Linked DNA regions of Homo sapiens: regions 1, 3, 4 and 5 are each linked to region 2. The links are contacts of gene promoters, found by promoter capture Hi-C in blood cells and fetal thymus (Javierre and others, 2016). All regions are on one chromosome and are shown on one strand. The core of a region is centred on a gene start or on the middle of the fragment in contact, and the rest is flanking DNA. Distances in the headings are between cores, read along the strand shown. Region 1 overlaps ZC3H13 (zinc finger CCCH-type containing 13). Region 2 holds the start of ERICH6B (glutamate rich 6B). Region 3 overlaps CPB2 (carboxypeptidase B2). Region 4 has its middle 28 kb from the start of SIAH3. Region 5 overlaps CPB2 (carboxypeptidase B2).

The links. Contacts are between HindIII fragments. The CHiCAGO score rates a contact against its expected background, and 5 or more counts as called.
Region 1: a fragment that was not itself captured here is called in contact with the fragment with the promoter of ERICH6B in region 2 in 1 of 17 cell types (M1 macrophages); the score reaches 5.0 in M1 macrophages.
Region 3: a contact is called between a fragment that was not itself captured here and the fragment with the promoter of ERICH6B in region 2, in 1 of 17 cell types (endothelial precursors). The highest score is 6.1, in endothelial precursors.
Region 4: a contact is called between a fragment that was not itself captured here and the fragment with the promoter of ERICH6B in region 2, in 1 of 17 cell types (M1 macrophages). The highest score is 6.0, in M1 macrophages.
Region 5: a fragment that was not itself captured here is called in contact with the fragment with the promoter of ERICH6B in region 2 in 1 of 17 cell types (endothelial precursors); the score reaches 5.5 in endothelial precursors.

Annotation. Positions count from the first base shown.
Region 1 is chr13:45,988,840-45,992,675 of GRCh38, forward strand. It overlaps ZC3H13 (zinc finger CCCH-type containing 13), which reads right to left. Exons shown (of 19, transcript NM_001330564.2): 9 at 1-258. Among named protein-coding and RNA genes, the nearest start is that of ZC3H13, 62 kb to the right of the region's middle. The HindIII fragment of the contact is 1,177 bases long and covers 1,690-2,866 here.
Region 2 is chr13:45,613,960-45,617,528 of GRCh38, forward strand. ERICH6B (glutamate rich 6B) reads right to left here and starts at 1,780. Exons shown (of 15, transcript NM_182542.3): 1 at 1,726-1,780. RefSeq lists an enhancer at 1,403-1,904. The HindIII fragment of the contact is 3,697 bases long and covers 1-2,088 here.
Region 3 is chr13:46,092,101-46,095,768 of GRCh38, forward strand. The region is part of intron 1 of CPB2 (carboxypeptidase B2); the gene reads right to left. CPB2-AS1 (CPB2 antisense RNA 1) reads left to right here. Exons shown (of 3, transcript NR_046227.1): 2 at 2,753-2,902. Among named protein-coding and RNA genes, the nearest start is that of CPB2, 11 kb to the right of the region's middle. The HindIII fragment of the contact is 221 bases long and covers 1,975-2,195 here.
Region 4 is chr13:45,877,455-45,881,138 of GRCh38, forward strand. No RefSeq gene overlaps it. Among named protein-coding and RNA genes, the nearest start is that of SIAH3, 28 kb to the left of the region's middle. The HindIII fragment of the contact is 777 bases long and covers 1,267-2,043 here.
Region 5 is chr13:46,072,511-46,076,007 of GRCh38, forward strand. CPB2 (carboxypeptidase B2) reads right to left here. Exons shown (of 11, transcript NM_001872.5): 6 at 1,363-1,467. The region is part of intron 1 of CPB2-AS1 (CPB2 antisense RNA 1); the gene reads left to right. Among named protein-coding and RNA genes, the nearest start is that of CPB2-AS1, 21 kb to the left of the region's middle. The HindIII fragment of the contact is 262 bases long and covers 1,248-1,509 here.

The DNA of each region.
Region 1 (3,836 bases), core at 1,028-3,527, 380 kb after region 2:
TGTCTCCCTTTCTCTCGCATTGGAGAGCGATGTCTTGGAGGACTCTGCTTTCTCTGGGGAGACGACAAAGAATGTGAAGGATAAGGAGAGGCAGAGCGTCGTAAAGGTGGAGTTAGTGTCCGCTGATAAGATGGTGAAGGAGTTCTTTTTCGACGAGGAGAAGGAGAATGTCTTTGAATAGATGATCCTGATTGTGAGGAAGATGAGTGATGTCTAGAAGATATAGGAGAATGATGCTGTCCTGCTGGGGAAGTAGACCTACAAGGGAAAACAATAACAATAAAACATGTATTCAAGAGCTTCATTTCTAGCCAAAGGAAAATCTTTAAAAACAAAAAAGTGAATATGAAAGTATAGACAATAACTTCAGAATAAATTTTAATTCACAATGCTGTAAAATTCTAAGTAAGTCACTTTTTTAACGACGTGACTTAACTTTAAGTCAACTAGAAGCAACAGTTCAAGAAGAGATATGCAGTGCTTTTCTCCCAGGCTTTGGTGCCAAAGTACACTGCATTTTCCAACATACACCATCTACCCTAACTTAAAGTATGGAATTCACTCTGATAATCTCTGAAAGTGTGAACAAATACTTAGAGGGAGAAAACCCACAAACTATGGCAAAACATACTACTGAGATCTAGAGAGAAAGTGGCTTTGAGAATGCCTGTAAATTCATGGCTATGGTAAAAGGGGAGGTAGCATCAGCTAAGGCAAACAAAAAGTCCACGCTGCATGGGTTGACATTTAGGACTATGAAAGAATCCTAGAATTAAGGAAAGGATAACAAAATATATACTGTCTTTAACTTAAGTAATCTGCCTTCACTGTGGGCAGCACAAACTGAGAGTTAGTTCATAGTTCTTGGTTCAACTAAGGCCTCCCCTATTCCCTTCAAATCATTTTCTTTCACTGCTACCAGAGAAACAACACATAACCTCATGAAACAGATGTGATCATTAAGCACATCTGAATCACTCCTAGAGTCTATTATACCTGGGTCCTGTCCAAACTTTTGTGCAATAACTAAGAAGCAGCAGGAAATAATGTTTAAAATATAATATTCTAGACATGCCCAGATAAATATTCCTCAAAGCAATCATCTCAAGAGCTAAAAGCTTATTCAAAAAAATTCTGATTTTTTAAGTCAAAGTATTTCTGTAATTATCTTCAGTGTCTATGATAAACATTTTTTTAGTATGTGCAGTGATGGCACAAATCATTACTAATTCTAAACCAGTTTCTCAACCCTAGCACTACTGACATTTTGTACTGGGTAACTCTTCGGAGGAGGGGGAGTGTCTTGTACATTATATATAGGATGTTTAACAGCATCCCTGGCCTCAACTCACTAGATGCCAGTAGCATCCCTCCCATTCCAAGTTATGACAATAAAAAATTACTCCAGACATTGCCAAATGTCCTCTACCAGGCAAAATCACCCCCAGTTGAGAACCACTACCTTAAACTATGTTGTTTATAAATGATGCCTTAGTAAACCTTTTATCAAAAAAAGGTTTCAATCTATAAACTATGTTACTAAGTCAGGAATGTGATCTAATATATTAGAAAGAATATGCAGAAAAGAATTTAGGCAAATAAAAATACCTCTGGGTGACAGTAAATGAAAAGTCAGCTAACTAGAACACTACACTCACTTAAACATCAAGTTTTCTGTGACTTGATTAAAGCTTTATACTTTTAATAAAATAGTGATTCCTTTCTAACATAAAAAGATAAGCCATAAGCTACTAAAATTTAATTGACTCTAAATAGAAATTTATTAACTTAACAGCTAATATGAGTGGAAATACTCAACGGGTCTTAGCCAAATTTGGAAAACCATTTATGATCAATGCCCATCTAAATGCATCCTACTGAACAGAAAAATCACTGCAAGAGTAAAAATTAGAGTCAGTATTGTCTGGTTGTTTTCAATTTCAATGTCATTAGGTTCTAGTAAATTTTTGGGGGGATGGGCGGGGGGACAAGGTCTCGCTGTCACCCAGGCTACAGTACAGTGGCATGATCATGGCTCACTGCACTCTTGGCTTTCTGGGCTCAAGTGATCCTCCCACCTCAGCCTCCCGAGCAGCTGGGACTACAGGCACATGCCACCACACTCAGCTACTTTGTTTTATTTTTTATAGAGACGAGGTCTCACTATACCCCGGTTGGTCTTGAACTCCTGGGCTCAAGCCATCATCCTGCCTCAGCCTCCTAAAGTGCTGGGATTATAGGCATGAGCCACCATGCTTGATGGTTCTCGTCAATTTAAAAAACTAAAGAATGAATGGTTCTCCATTGAACTGATATTTTGGTTACTTCTGTGTTTATTTCTGGGGTATACTTAAAATTGTTTCAAGAATGTCTACAATAGCCTTGAGTTATTAGTTCATAAAACTTAAAAAAACAAAACAGTTCACATATACTACCTTTAAAAAACACATTAGGGTCCAATCATGTTTCTATTCAACTTGATGGCTATAGCATGGAAGAAAAAACTTCAAACTTAGGATAATCGGGCTATCACATTAAGGTCAGAACACTAATGGGTTGTCAAATAATGGCTTCAACTTTTTAATCATATTTTCTTTTTACTCAACCTTCACCTACGTCCATTCTGCATATATAAAAGGTATGATTCTAAGCAACGAAACTGTCTTGAAATCTGGTGAAAATTAATAGTACTTTGGCTATAGACTATTACAGAGCTATAGTAAAGTACATTTCCACTTAGAATAGAAGTAACTTCAGATTAATTCGTCTTATGCTTTATAATTGGCTGGTTTCTTATCTGAGGGAAAAAATTAGTGAAACTTGAAATTCAAATAAAGAAAAAAGGAAAGTTTATTTAATGAAGAGAAGCTTAATACCTTAAAACAAAAACCTGTATAATGTAATCAAGAGCACTGTGATTTATTGTATCCAGGGAAAGTTGATCTTTGGTCTGACTAGATTCCAATCAAACACTTTTTAGTGCTGCTATAATTAGGATATGATGTGGTGTGGAATGAGAATATTCAGGGTATATTTCATTTTGGGAAAAAATGTGAAAAGTTAAGAAATTTAAAAATAAAAACTCTCATTCAAGATGCAAGTAATTTCACCTGCAAACTAATAGGTTTACCCCAGACTTACTTAAAAATAGTAACACCAATGTTTCTTTCAAAAAATGGTTTCTATTTCTCAAATATGAAAATATGCTTACATAATGCACTAACATTCATATTTTAACCTTTAAAATCATGTAAAATGTATACATTTTTAAAACACAAAGGTAATATGGGCACTACCAAAATCATCTCTGTTTTCAGTGATAAAATACAACATAATACACATTTTGCAAGTAGAAATATTTAGGTTCTATTATTTTACATATGAAGTTTATATTTATTAAATCATTTTAATTCACTCAACAAATATTAAGTGAGCACATACTAAGCTCCAAGCATTATTTTTGGCAATGAGGATACAGAAATGAAGAGAACAAAACCACTAACATAATAATAGTAATGACATTAATAATAGCAAGTAACGTATATTGCTACTATGTGTGTGACACTATTTTAAGTGCTTGTCATATATTAACTCACTTAATCTTTATGACAATCTAATAAGGTAATTGAATGTCATGGTTAATTTTATGTGTCAACTTAATCCATTTATGCCTAGTGTTCCATTATTGGAATACTAAACTTGTGGGAGTTATTTATATCCTACTGCTCAAGGTCTCATGGCCAAGGTCTGATTTTTCACAAAAAAATTTGCAACTTCTGACATAACTGGGTTAACTGGGTCATGGAATGGCCCAGATATCTGGCTAAACATTATTT
Region 2 (3,569 bases), core at 530-3,029:
GCTGCCAGGGTCTGTCTTAGCAGGATACATCAGCCCCATCTCCAACAGGAGAAATGGGAGGACAGGGCTTCACCCTGTCTGCTGGTGCAAGAGAAGCCTTGAGCTTCGGTAGACAGTTGTATGTGTCCCTTCCAACCAGAGACCTCAATATATTAACGGGCCCTCTTTTTTCTCTGCAGGATCCAGTACATATTTCTGACGGCTCCTCCAGAGTGGGATTTTATCTGGAGTCCCACCCTTTCTTTTGAATTTCCTTATCACTTTATAGCAAGTTTATTCACTCATTAAAACCCAACCCAAAGTCACCTCGTCTGGGAAGACACACAAGCTCTTCCAGAAAGAGTCTCTCTTTTCCTGACTGCTCTCTCACTGCCTTTCTCCTATTGCACTTCTCCCTGGTTTGTGTGTCTGCCTCACCCATGAGACTGTAGCCCGGCACCATGTCAGGCACGTAGCAGGATTTCAACAGAAGGATGTGGATCGAATGGATGATCCAACGGAAGGAGAGGCACACAGGAGGCTGACCACAAATGAAATTTCTGGTTTGGACTTTTCAGCCCCCATCACTTCACTTTCCCTCCTGCTATGGGGGAAACTCAAGAGATGAGTTATGGGTGGGCTAAGACAGCAAGCTGGGAGCTGGTGAAGAAGATGGAGTGGGTGACCCTTGGCTTTCACTGGGCTTCTCCCAGCCGATGCTTGGAAACCCTAGATGGATCAAGGTGAGAAGCCTCATTTCTGTAAAGGACTCCAAGGATTCCATGGTGCTCTGCAAACGTAATGTGTTCTTGTTGCTGTTATCATCTACCATAGCTGTTTATAACCTTGTTCATTAACTTGTGTGATTCTTGGCTGAAGTCTGCTGCTCTCCCCCATGAGGGGAACAACTGATGACCTACTTCTGTGAATTCCATGGTGCCAGGCCTGGGCTGATCTGGATCTACATTAAAACATGCCAGGGGGCAAACATGAAATCAAAATGTTCTGGCAACCCCCTTAGACCAATCAGTGCAGTGTTTAGCACTATAGACACCCAGTGCACTCATTACAACATCATTTCCTAGGACCTTTTTTATAAATAGAATTTCGAATATATTCAGGTTTGAACTTTCAAGGAGGGTGACTTTGAGCCATCACTTGGAACAGAACACTTGTAAAAACACTGACCTTGGTCACTGCTCACATCTCCCTGGAAGGCCAGTTAGGACTGCTGTTTACCCCCCACATTAGAGAGGTAGGGGAAGGAAACAGGGGAAGCTGAGTGACTTGCCTTTGGGCCACAGGAGTCGCTTCGTGGGCAAGGCTGGAGTTTTCGATCTGGGGAATTTGTTCCTGGTTGGGGGACTGGTCTATATTCAGGCTGTCAAGGAAGAAGTCATAGTATCCACACTCGCACTTCCCCCCAGAGCTAGGGGCTCTCTGGAGAGAAAGTGACCCCTTATCCTTTATTTGTAGAAATATCATGACCCAACAACGGCCTTCACAATGGGAAGAAGCTGGGTCGAAGCAGATGTCAGAAAGGCCAAGGGAATAGAGAGGCCGAGAAAGGGCGAGAGAAACAAAGAAGTCTATGTACTTGGCGCTTCTTTGTTGCCCAGATCCTCCACTCTGCTCCCTGCTTTCTCCCTCAGAGAAGGAGGGGGAAGAGGAGGAGGAGAGTGGGTGGAGAGGGAGGCGGAGGAGAAAGAGGAGGAGGAGCGCATTGCTAACGTGCGCAGCCCTTACCCAAGCCAGGCTCCCGCGCGTGCATCCACCGCGATCTCAGGCCCCGGCGTTTGTGGCAGCTCTCGGTTACCATGGGAACCGCACTCCGCAGCCTCCCTGGGCCCCATCTAATCTGCGTGTGTGCGTGGCGGAGAATTCTAAGCCTCTGCACCTGCCCTTGCCTTCCCTTTCCCAGCCTCTCTCCTGGCGGGGAACTGTTTGGACCAGTCGTCAGCGGCGGCCAGAAAGTTTTCCTGCTGTCTGCCTGAAGGTCGCCTGTGTCAGGGGGAAGTTGCAGCCGTGGGGATTGTGTTTCCCTGAATGGAGACAGTACACGTCAGACCTCCAGGCTGGGACTTTCTAGAATCCTGGGGTCCAGTGCTAAGCTTGTGGTGGCTGCGTAGATGAAGAGATGGGACATGTGGCTCTCAAGGCCCTGAATGGGCTCACTGGAGCTGGTCCCCAGGAAAGGAACTGCCCTGAAAGGGATAGAGAGACCCACAAGGGGTTGATCTGGGGCCAAGGGTTGGAGAAAGCTGAGTTCCCATGCCCTGGCCACTGTGAGTGGACTTGCAGGAGTGGCAGAATGGTCAGGTGGGGTGGGAGGCTGGGTTGCAAACCACTTCTATGTAGGCATTCCTGGTCAGTTGTCACAGAGGTTTCAGAAGGACCTCAGTCTTTGAAGTGCTTGCAATTTGCCCTTCCTTTTCTTTCCTTTTCTTTTTCTTCTCATTATACTTTAAGTTCTGGGATACATGTGCAGAACGTGCAGGTTTGTTACATAGGTATACACGTGCCATGGTGTTTTGCTGTACCCATCAGCTCGTCATCTACATTACGTATTTCTCCTAATGTAATCTCTCCCCTTGCCCCCCCGCCCCCGATAGGCCCCAGTGTGTGATGTTCCCCTCCCTGTGCCCATATGATCTCATTGTTCAACTCCCACTTATGAGTGAGAACATGTGGTGTTTGGTTCTCTGTTCCTGTGTTAGTTTGCTGAGAATGATGGTTTCCAGCTTCATCCATGTCCCTGCAAAGGACATGAACTCATTCTTTTTTATGGCTGCATAGTATTCCGTGGTGTATATGTGCCACATTTTCTTTATCCAGTCTATCATTGATGGGCATTTGGGTTGGTTCAAGTGTTTGCTGTTGTGGATAGTGCTGCAATAAACATACGTGTGCATGCGTCTTTACAGCAGCATGATTTATAATCCTTTGAGTATATGCGCAGTAATGGGATTGCTGGGTCAAATGGTATTTCTGGTTCTAGATCCTTTAGGAATTGCCACACCGTCTTCCACAATGGTTGAACTAACTTACACTCTCACCAACAGTGTAAAAGCATTCCTATTGCTCCACATCCTCTCCAACATCCATTGATTCCTGACTTTTTAATGATTGCCATTCTAACTGGCATGAGATGGTATCTCATTGTGGTTTTGATTTGCATTTCTCTAAAGAGCAGTGATGATGAGTTTTTTTTTATACGTTTCTTGGCCGCATAAATGTCTTCTTTTGAAAAGTATCTGTTCATATCCTTCACCCACTTTTTGATGGGGTTGTTTGTTTCTTGTAAATTTGTTTAAGTTCCTTGTAGATTCTGGATATTAGCCCTTGTCGGATGGATAGATTGCAAAAATTTTCTGCCATTCTGTATGTTGCCTATTCACTCTGATGACAGTTTCTTTTGCTGTGCAGAAGCTCTTTAGTTTAATTAGATCCCATTTGTCAATTTTCGCTTTTGTTGCCATTGCTTTTGGTGGTGTAGCCATGGAGTCTTTGCCTATGCCTATGTCCTGAATGGTATTGCCTAGGTTTTCTTCTAGGGTTTTTATGGTTTAGGTCTTACTTTAAATCTTTAA
Region 3 (3,668 bases), core at 835-3,334, 480 kb after region 2:
GATAGATATATTTTAAATTAGAAAAAATGCTTCCTCTTGCTTTATTTAAAACTAATCTTAGACTTTGCTTCCAGTTATACCCTCCTTTATGAAATAACTAAAAACCTGGACAAAATGTATGGAACAACAGCACTCAAGACATTAGACAACAGCAACATTATGACTAAATGCAACATGGTGTTCTGGATTAGATCTCGGAACAGAAAAAGAGCTTTAGTGGGAAAACTGGTGAAATCCAAAAAAGTCTGGAGTTTAGTTAATAGTAATATAACAATGTTGATTTCTCAGTTTTTACTAATACATCATGATAATATAAAATGTTAACATTAGGGTATATTGGGTGAGGGGTATACAGTTGTATTACAATTGGCAACTTTTCTGTAAATCTAAAAATATTCCAAATAAATCATCTTATTTAAGAAAACCATGTACCAAGAGCTCTCAAAGCACAAAAGAGGTTATGATAACTTCTGTTTGTCATTATTAGCAAAGGCTTCATAGAAGGGATGTCTGGGTGTGTAAGAATGTCTAAGAGTGGGTAAAGGCACAATAGCAAGAGATAAAGGGCATTTTTGGAAAAATGGCTCTTGTTCATTGTTGCCAAGTATAGGATACGGGTGTTTAAAGCAAGAGAAGAATGGGAGCTAAACAGAAATGAGTGTGGGAAGTTATGTTCATCCTTCCCTAGAGAAGGTCTTGAATGCATGCTGAGAAATTTGGACTTTATCTTGTAGGCAATTAGAAGTTAGAAAGGTAACATTTGAGCTGTGATTTATAGGGATAATTTTATTTGTTTTCCTTTGTTTGTTTTTGTTTGTTTGTTTGTTTTTGAGATGGAGTCTCGCTCTGTCACCCAGGCTGGAGTGCAATGGCGTGATCTTGGCTCACTGCAACCTCCACCTTCTGGGTTCAAGCGATTCTCCTGCCTTAGCCTCCTGAGTAGCTGGGATTACAGGCGTGCACCACCATGCCCGGCTAATTTTTGTATTTTTAGTAGAGATGGGGTTTCACCATGTTGGTCAGGCTGGTCTTGAACTCCTGACCTCAGACAATCCACCCGCCTCAGCCTCCCAAAATGCTGGGATTACAGGCGTGAGCCACCGCGCCCACCAAGGATAACTTTAACAAGGGTGGAGGGTGGCTTTATTTTGGAAATCCTGAGTAAAATATTCTGAATTCTGGAAATAAGTCTATGGAGAGACTTGCTTATTAGAAGAGGGGAAAAGTAGCTAGACTGAGAAATTTTATGTCAATCTCTGGTACAAGTTTAGCATAAACTATTAAACCACTGATTAAAGATACATGTTCAAGGATGTGTATTACGGCATTATTCATAGTAACAAAACCTAAAAACCATGTGAATGCTCAGCAGTAACAGAATTGTCGAATGTTGGTAGTGTCTCCACATTCTAGAATGCTTTTCAGTCATTATAAAAAATGAGTTTGATTTATAACAGTTAACTTGGGGGCTTTAAATGGCATATTAAGGGAGAAAAGCAAGATATGGAGAACTTTATGAAATATGATCCTATTTTTGGAAAAAAAGTTAGAAAGATAAAGAAAAATTATATGTGTTAAAATCAGGAGAAAATTATACATAAATAAACAACACATTGTTAGCTTTGATTTGGAGGGTGGGAAATGGCAATTGAAGCCTTGGGTAAGTGGCAGGGGAAGAACAAATGAGATTCTTTTTAAAAGAAAGGTTTCTATAGTACCAATAGGAGATACAACATTGAACTAGTATACAATTATACCCAGGGAGGTATAACTATGTGGAGAAATGTATGAAAGGATGATCACAAACATGTTCATATTTTCACCAGGATGGTGAAATTTTAGTATTTTCTCCCTAATTTTATGCTTTTCTGTATTATTTACTTTTTAAACCCAAAAGAACTCCTATTCTTGTATTTATTCAAGAAAATTAAATTTAAAGAAAAATCTCCTTTGACTGTGAAAAAGCCACTAACAAGCTTCTCAGTGATGCTGGTAACCCTCTCATCTCACCAGCACATTCCTTATTATTTTCATAAACAGAATGTTCTCTGGGCCCTTGGAGTAGCGTAGTCACCCAGTGGGTTTTCTAGCCTTACATAGCATTTTTATTCTAGTGTGCTCTATCTCTTTTTTCACCATCTGCCACATTCGCTCTGACATTTCTAGCTCAGATGGTGCAGGCCATGCTTTCTCCAAGCTTCCAAAAACTACCCTAACAGCATGTTTGTACCACCTCTCAAGGAACTAACTAGAATGTTAAATTCTGTAGCATGGGTGAGTGCACCTCCTTTGGGGTATAGTCCCTTTCCTTTGTTAACATGCCCAGCACTTCCACAGCCAGCTTATGTTGTGACTACCCTAGGTTATTGGCTTGAAGGCCAGGAGGGGAGGTGGGAATAGATCCTGAGGGCTAACTACAGGACATGCCATTACAGAACTGAGCTCTCTGATACCAATGGAGATGTTAAGATCCCTGTATAGAGAAGCCAGGCGGGAGGGCTTAACCACCAGTAACAAGTTGGGCACAGTTATTACAATGAGCAGTAAGGTCGGAGTGGCAGCCAGAGGACCATGACCCTTAGAAAATTGTGGAGTCGGTTAGGAGAACACAGAGTTCTTAGGGGCAAGATAGAGAAGCAGCCAACAAAAGGATTGCTCAATCTTTACAATAAAAATAAATCAAAGCTGGATAATGAGAGAGGCTGAGGACAGCTATCCTAATCAAAAGTCATAATCCATTGCCCTTTTCCAGATCTGAGCTGTTCTTAGACCCAGAATTTCTTGCCTGAAGGAGGAATCAGGTCCCCACAAGGAAAGACCCTGCAACTGTATAAAAAAAGAATCTAAAAAGATCATGACTCCTTCAGTCCTTTCCCAAAGAGACCTATGGAAATTTCCTCAGGTAAGTCTGCACCCTGGGGAAAGGGTAATACTCAAATATTTTCAGGTGTGTTGGATGCAGGGTCACTATCCAAGTTGATTTTGAAACTTGGGTATCTGGAGCCCTAGCCTAAGACTAGCTCATAGCGGGTGCACCATGTTAATGGATTCCCCCATCATTATTTCCCTGGTCACCAAATGTATAATTGACATGAACATACTAGGTAGTTGGCAGAACCTCCACATTGTTTCCTTGACTGTAAGACCAGAGCTATCATAGTGGGAAAAGCCAAAAGGAAACCTCTGAAATTGCCCAACCTCCCAGCCAAGATATCAAAATTAAAAAAAAAAAAATTCATCCTTGAGGGGAAATGACAAATATCAGTACCACCCTTAAAGACCTAAAAGATGCAGGGATGATAGATCCCATCAAATCCACATTTAATTTGCCATCTGGATCCCACAAAAACCAGATGGATCCTGGAAAACGACAGCAAACAATCAAACTCAACCAAGCAACAATCTCAATTGCAGCCATAGTGCTTGATGTGGCATCTTTGCCGGGGTAGAGTCTCAGGCATATGGTATTCAGCTATTGCGCTGGATATGTCAGTCGGAAAAAGCATCAGAACAGTTAACATCCACTTGGGACAGACACCAGTGCATATTTACAGTCTTGCCTCAGCTTTAATTAACTTTCTCACTCTCCAGCTGCAAGATGTGTACTTGATATAAGCCCCCAGCTACTGTGCTCTGAAATCTGTCCCTGTGTTAGTGCTAATACCACA
Region 4 (3,684 bases), core at 405-2,904, 260 kb after region 2:
TGGCCAACATGGGGAAACCCTGTCTCTACTAAAAATACAAAAATTAGCTGGGCGTGGTGGTGAGTGCCTGTAATCCCAGCTCCTCGGGAGGCTGAGGCAGAATTGCTTGAACCCAAGAGGCAGAGGTTACAGTAAGCCAACATCATGCCACTGCACTCCAGCCTGGGCAACAGAGCAAGACTCCATCTCAAAAAACAAACAAACAAACAAAAAGAGTGAGGTTCACATGATCATGGAGGCTGGTAAGTCTAAACTTTGTAAGACAGGCTGGGAACTCAGGCAGGATTTCCATGTTTCAGTCTTGAGGCAGAATTCCTTCCTTAGGAAACCTGTTTTTGCTCTTAAGACCTTCAGCTTATTGGATGAGGCTCGTATGGACTGAAATGTGTCTTCCCAAAATTCATGTGTTAAAGCCCTCACCCCCAAAGTGATTGCATTTGGAGACAGGGCTTTTTTTTTTTTTTTTTTTTGGCAGAGTCTCACTCTGTCGCCCAGGCTGGAGTGCAGTGTCACAGTCTCAGCTCACTGCAACCTCTACTTCCTGGGTTCAAGCGATTCTGCTGCCTCAGCCTTCCAAGTAGCTGGGACTACAGATGTGCGCCACCATGCCCAGCTAATTTTTCTATTTTTAGTAGAGATGGGGTTTCACCATATTGGCCAGGCTGGTCTTGAACTCCTGACCTCACGATCTGCCTGCCTCGGCCTCCCAAAGCGCTGGGATTACAGGCTTGAGCCACTGCACCCGGCAGAGACAGGGATTTTAAAGAGGTGAAGAAGGTTAAATGAGGTGACAGGGTGGGGTAGTGGGAAGAAACACCAGAGAACAGGCCATGTGAGGATGCAGGGAGAAAGCAGCCATCTGCAAGCCAAGGAGAGGCCTCAGGAGAAACCAACCCTGCCACCATCTTGATTTCGGACTTCCAGCCTCCAGAACTGTGAGAAAGGCATTTTTGTTGTTTAAGCCACCCAGTCTGTGTTACTTGGTTACGGTAGCCCTAGCAAACCAACACAGGAGTCCACCCGCAAGTTAACCATTATCTCCTTTACTTAAAGTCAACTGATTTTAGATGTCAATCACACAACTTCTAAACTAGTATTTGATGAAACAGCTGGGCACCGCAGCCTAACTCCCCATTAGCAAATGCATGAACACTTCAGCAGTAAAATGTGTCCTCACACTAAGTAAAATAAAGCCTATCATTAGCCTTCCTGACTTTGGGTCAGGTTTGGCACCAAATGAGTTACAAAATAATCATTGGTCTTTGAAGCTTGGGAGATGAGAATTAGAGATGGAAGATCAAAGATTAATTTTACTTACTTCATAGTTTTGACTCTAGTCAGACCTGCCTGCCCAGGTATATTGAAAGAGCAAAGTACTTTTATCCATTTCAAATAGTTATATAATGGCTGCCATTCATAAATATGTAATACTCTGCTACATATTAAATAAACTTTTTCTCAGATATCTTTCAGAACAATCCTGTGAGGTGCATGTTATGATGCCCATTTTATAGAAGAGGAACCTAAGCACAGAGAGGGAAAGTAATTTGCCCTAAATTACACAGCTATAAAGAGGCAGAGCGGGGTAGTGCATATGACCAGCACACTATGCTGCCTCCTCCCATGAGATGATGTGTACAGAAAGAAAGTCTCACTGTTCAGAAAACATAGTCCACGCTCTGGAGCCTACATCATCACCACGTGTTCTTGGTGTCTCTTCCTAGTGCCCTCACGCTCATCTGACACTCATAAAGCCCTTTCATTTTGGTTTGTCCTCAGATAGCTGCGGGAAGAGATGCCCTAAAGATCTGGTGTGGATGCTGCCTTCCTCACAGCTCCTCAGTGGCTCCCCATTAATTACTCCACACAGGCAGTAAGCCTCATCATAGCACTCAAAGCCCCTAGGACTTGGCCTTAACTGATTGGTCGGTTTAGCAGCACCATATTTTATTGCTGCTTTCCAACTTTCATGTGTTCCACTAAACTGGAAAAACCTCCTCTCCCAATAGCTGCTGCGGCTTCTCCTCTGAGGTTGCTGAATGAAGCTTTGTGGTGTGGCAGAAGCAGGGAGGGTTCCAGAGTCCTACTGGCCCCCTGTTTCACCATCTGTGTTAACTTCAGGGAGTTATTTTCTCATTCTGAGCCGTTTTCCACTTGGAGGAGAGGGGCAGAGTTGTACCTACTGCACAGGGTTGGTGTGAGGACTCAGAAGGATACAGAACATAAAGCACCAATTGTCCTGTGTTAATATAAGAAGGTTGAGAAATACTATTCTTTCTCCCTGACAGGGAGCCTGTGAGCCAGGCAGGAACAGGCTCATCCGTGTCACGCAGGGTCAGTGTTTAGTGCCTCTGTCTTTGGCCGATGAGTGGACTCACACCTCTGGCACATGGCCTCATTCACTCCCAGAATAGCAGAAGCCACCTGGTGGTTGCTGGCGCTGGTCCTCACGCCTTGAATCAGAGCTCTCCTGGAAAGGTCTTCCTTCAGCTCCTTTCAGTTACATGATTGACATGCTTTTTTCTGGCAGTAAAGCTGGGAATGGAACTCCACAGACTTGAAAAACATTGAATGGTGTCTTGCTGAAATTGCTTTTTTTTTTTTCATTTTTAATTCGAAGAAAACAAAAGCCCAAACCTTGCAGTGGAAAAGTCATTAAATAATTTACTGCATTTGCCGTTTTAAGTGGTAATTTAATACAACCATCCTTGAAGCCTCCTTTAGGACAAAAATTTTGAGATAGAAACAAAAAAGGGCACAGTAGCTATACTTATATCAGATAAAATAGACTTCAAGCCAAAATCTGTAAAAAGAGACAAGGCCATCCTATAGTAACAAAGAGGTCAATACAGCAAGAGGATATAACAATTGAAAAAAATATCTATATTCAACATTGAAACACCTAAGTATGTAAAGCAAACATTGAACAGATCTAAAGGGCGAGATAGACTGCAATACACTTGTAGTAGTGTACTTTAACACCCCATTTTCAGCAACGGACAGATCATCCAGACAGAAAATCAACAAAGAAGCATCAGAATTAAACTGGACTCTAGACCAAATGGACCTAACAGATATTTACAGAAAATTCCATCCAATAGTTTCAGAATACACATTCTTCTCAACAGCACACAGAACATTCTCCAGGATAGATTATAAGTTAGCCCACAAAACAAATCTTAACAAATTTTCAAAAATCAAAATCAGAATTATATCAAGTATCTTTTCTGACCACACTGGAATAAAACTAGCAATCAATAACAGGAGGAACTTTGGAGAGTGTATAATTACATGGAAATTAAACAACATGCTCCTAAACAACCAATGGGTCAACAAGGAAATTTAAAAGGAAATTAAAAAATTTATTAAGACAAATGAAAATGGAAACACAACTTACTAAACCTATACAACAAAAGCAGTTCTAGGAGGGAAGTTCACAGCGATAGATGCTTACGTCGAAGAAGGAGAAAGATCTCAAACAACCTAATGTTGCTCCTCAAGGAACTAGAAAAACAAGAACAAATTAAAACCAAGATTAGTATAAGGAAAGAAATAATAAAGATCAGAGCAGAAATGAGCAAAGTAGAGACTAAATAAACATTATAAGAGATCAATAAAATGAAGAATTGGCGTTTTGAAAAGATAAAATAGACAAACTGTAAGCTAGACTAACAAAGAAAAAAG
Region 5 (3,497 bases), core at 129-2,628, 460 kb after region 2:
ATAAGATCCTTGGGCTATATTTTGTTCATCCTTGTATTTCCAGGATCTGAAACATCATAGGCAATCTATAAATATTTGTGGATTAAATAATTTAATCTTACAAAGATTCAGCAAGCAGTTTGGGTAGAGGGTAGGATGTCTAATAGGAGGGCAGAGGTGTCAGGGTGAGAAGGGCAGTCATTAGGGACAACCTCACCGATATAAATTAGAGTCAATATGAATGGAGGTTTCTTCTTGGCCCTTCTCATGTTCAGTGATAGAATGGAAAATAAATGTTCTTACTCTCCTACTTTGGACCTTTCTCTATTAACTGCTGCTCCCTTCACTACCTAAAATAACCAAACTACTCAACTTGGGGAAGGTTCCAGATCATGATGTGACTGGGATATGTTAAGGGTCTGATCAGTTGGAATCATCCTCATTTGGCCAAGGTAGTACCAATGGTGTTTGGGAATTTCCAGTAGACTCAGGGAGGTTGCAGCTCCCATCCATGGAGAATGGAGGATAGAAGATTCACAGTGAATGAAGGCAAATAGGGATGTTGCATTTGTCAAGGTCAAGCAAAGACAGAAACAGTTTTATCTTGATGTACTTAATAAGTGCCAATATCTTAATTTCCTAACTCATTTATTCTGTTACTATGTATCTGTGAATGCAAAGACTGCAAAAATCATTATCAGAAAGACACATATTTTGAGTTATTTTTCCAGTGGCTATGATTCTTTGTAGAAATCAGTGTAGAGAACATATATGCCCATTTTATAGGATTTGAAGCATAATTTTTACTGTTTTCATTCATCAGGGAGGTTAATAGTCGTTATATCTTTTACTTTTCCAACATACAGTTTGTCTTATATATGGCTTTTTTGATGCAAAACCCTTCTTCAGGAACAAAATTCCCTATTATGACATATGAGAAAACATATTCTGTTTCACCTCTGTAATGTTGTGCTTTATGTTCAATTTCCAAGGGCAAAGGTGGCAAAAGATGTCTGGATAATTAAAACCAAAAGAGAAATAAATTAATTGGGCCCCAACTTAGATAACTCCTTCAGTCCTTTCCTCTACTTAGTAAACATATTATAATCAATGTACTATTTCTTAATCATTTTCCACTGTTTAGCTCCAGGCAGAAATGTAGAAAAGACCAAAAATATTTTGGGTGATTTAAATGCTTGAAGTCATGTTCTTCAACTTACTAATGCATAAAAGTCACCTGGGAAACTTGTGAAAATTGTAGATTCCCAAGCTTCATGATGTGACCTAGGAAAATGCATTTTAATAAATAGCCCAGTTGAGTCTGACACAGGTGATCTTGGGCACCATTTTGAGAAATAGGGTTAAGAGAATGTGAATACTTACATGGCCTATGAACCACAAGCAGAAAGCAGGAGAGATCCATTCTCTGGCATGGATTCCACAGTCAATCCATATGGCATTTTTGGCTGCTTGTTCTTTTCCAGAAACCTGCTCAAAGAAACCCCAAAAGTAGCAAAAACAGTAACAATAAGCTTCAGGATAATAACTTTCATTTATATAGTGCTTATATTTAATAGTTTCAGCAAATCTCTGAGATATGCATTGTTCTGCATTTCTTTGAAAATTCTCAAGGGAAATTTAAACACTGGTGATACTAAGTGACATTAGTTAAGGTAGCAAAGCTGGTGTGAATTGAAACTGAAGTTTGAAGCCAGGACTCTTTGATTTAAAACTGTTTTTATCCTCCACAATTATGCAGTCATGTCAGAGCTGCATGTGGAAGTTTCAAAGAAGAGACCAGAGAACTAATGATTTGGGCTGTATCTTCATGCTTCATTTAGAGGTAAATGGGTGTGAGTTGGATGGCAATCTTCCCCGGGAGGTGTGGAGACACACCCAGAGCAAAAACTCCCTCAAGATTTTCCTGAGTGCATATTTTTTTTTTATGTGGATTATTTCTTTATTTCACACAAAAAGAAGCACACATCTAACCTCTCACGAACTTACCAGCAAATCCAGGGACAGAGGCTTTTTTCCCAGTATGGTGGGCTAACACAAGCTGCTAACTCTGGAATAAGAATCATCAACCTTTTCTCAATAATAGCCTTTGATGTCTTTAGAAGAATTATCAAGAACACCTCCAAAATTAATCATAATGTATTTGCCTTTAAAAGTCAGCTACAACACAGTTTAGGGTATAGAGCAGTGGTCCCCAACCTTTTTGGCACTAGGGACCAGTTTCATGGAAGACAATTTTTCCATGGATGGGGCAGAGTTGGGGTGGAATCAGTGGTGGGGATGGTTTGGGGATAAAACTGTTCCACCTCAGATCATCAGGCATTAGATTCTCCTAAGGAGCATGCAACCTAAATCCTTTGCATGCGCGGTTCACAGTGGGGTTTGTGCTCCTATGAGAATCTAACGCTGCCACTGATCTGACAGGAAGCATTGCTCAGGCAGTAATGCTTGCTCGCTGGCTATTCATCTCCAGTTGCGTGGCCGCGTTCCTAACAGGCCATGGACTGGTACCTGTCTGCAGCCCAGGGGTTGAGGACCACTGGTATAGAGGGAAGGGAGAAGACTGTTGTAAAATCAAACAAATATGTAGACTTGCAATTCCAAAATAAGAAAAAGAAAGAGTTAGATATTTAGATTGTCATTTGAACCACTCCAGGAGGTTTTTTCCTAACTTGGAGCTAGCAATATTTAACAGGATAGTAAGTAAGAAAGCCCAATGGCATTGGCCACTAATCGTCAAATTGTATAGTCAAAGAGAACTACCTAGCTTAATCTACTCAATGCAAAGAAAATCTTAAGTTGTCTGGATTCGTTACTTTACTTGACCTTTCTAAGTCCTGGGCCAATTTTCTTGGCACTGGTTCTGACACCGAAAAGTTGGCAAAATCCCAGAGACTCACATTATCTGCACATCCTTGATCAAGTAAGAGTAGGACCAAACCATCCAGAATGCATGATTTTTCAACGTGTACAGGTTCCAGATAAGTATGTTCCAAGGACTACACACAACATGGCTGAAAGCAAATGTCATGGGTGGATATGCCATGATACATGGATCCAATCTGATTGACCAACTCAGTGACCAAGGGGACCCAACATTTCATATGTCTGCCTTGAGTCTGCACTGTAAGTTCTTGTAAACGACAGATTAAAATTGAGAAGTCCTAACCCAAAGTCTTATCTTTGAATGACTGAAGAGGCTCACCTATCACAATTTAGATAATATTGGGATACTGTGCATAAATTATATGTTACTAAATTAAATGTACATTTTTAGTGACTACATTATTTTCCAGAGCTTTAAAAAAAATTTTTTTTAAGAGAGAGAGGTAGAAAACAGAACTATAGAGTTGTTTCCTAGTTCTGAAAACAATTGGCTGTGGCTATGTTCACTGACCTTTACTAAGGTCAATTTATTCAAGAGAGAAGACATCCAATCCAAGTTAGGTTAATCAATTTCTCTTGCATAATATTTTGCAACTGAAAATAAATAACCAAAT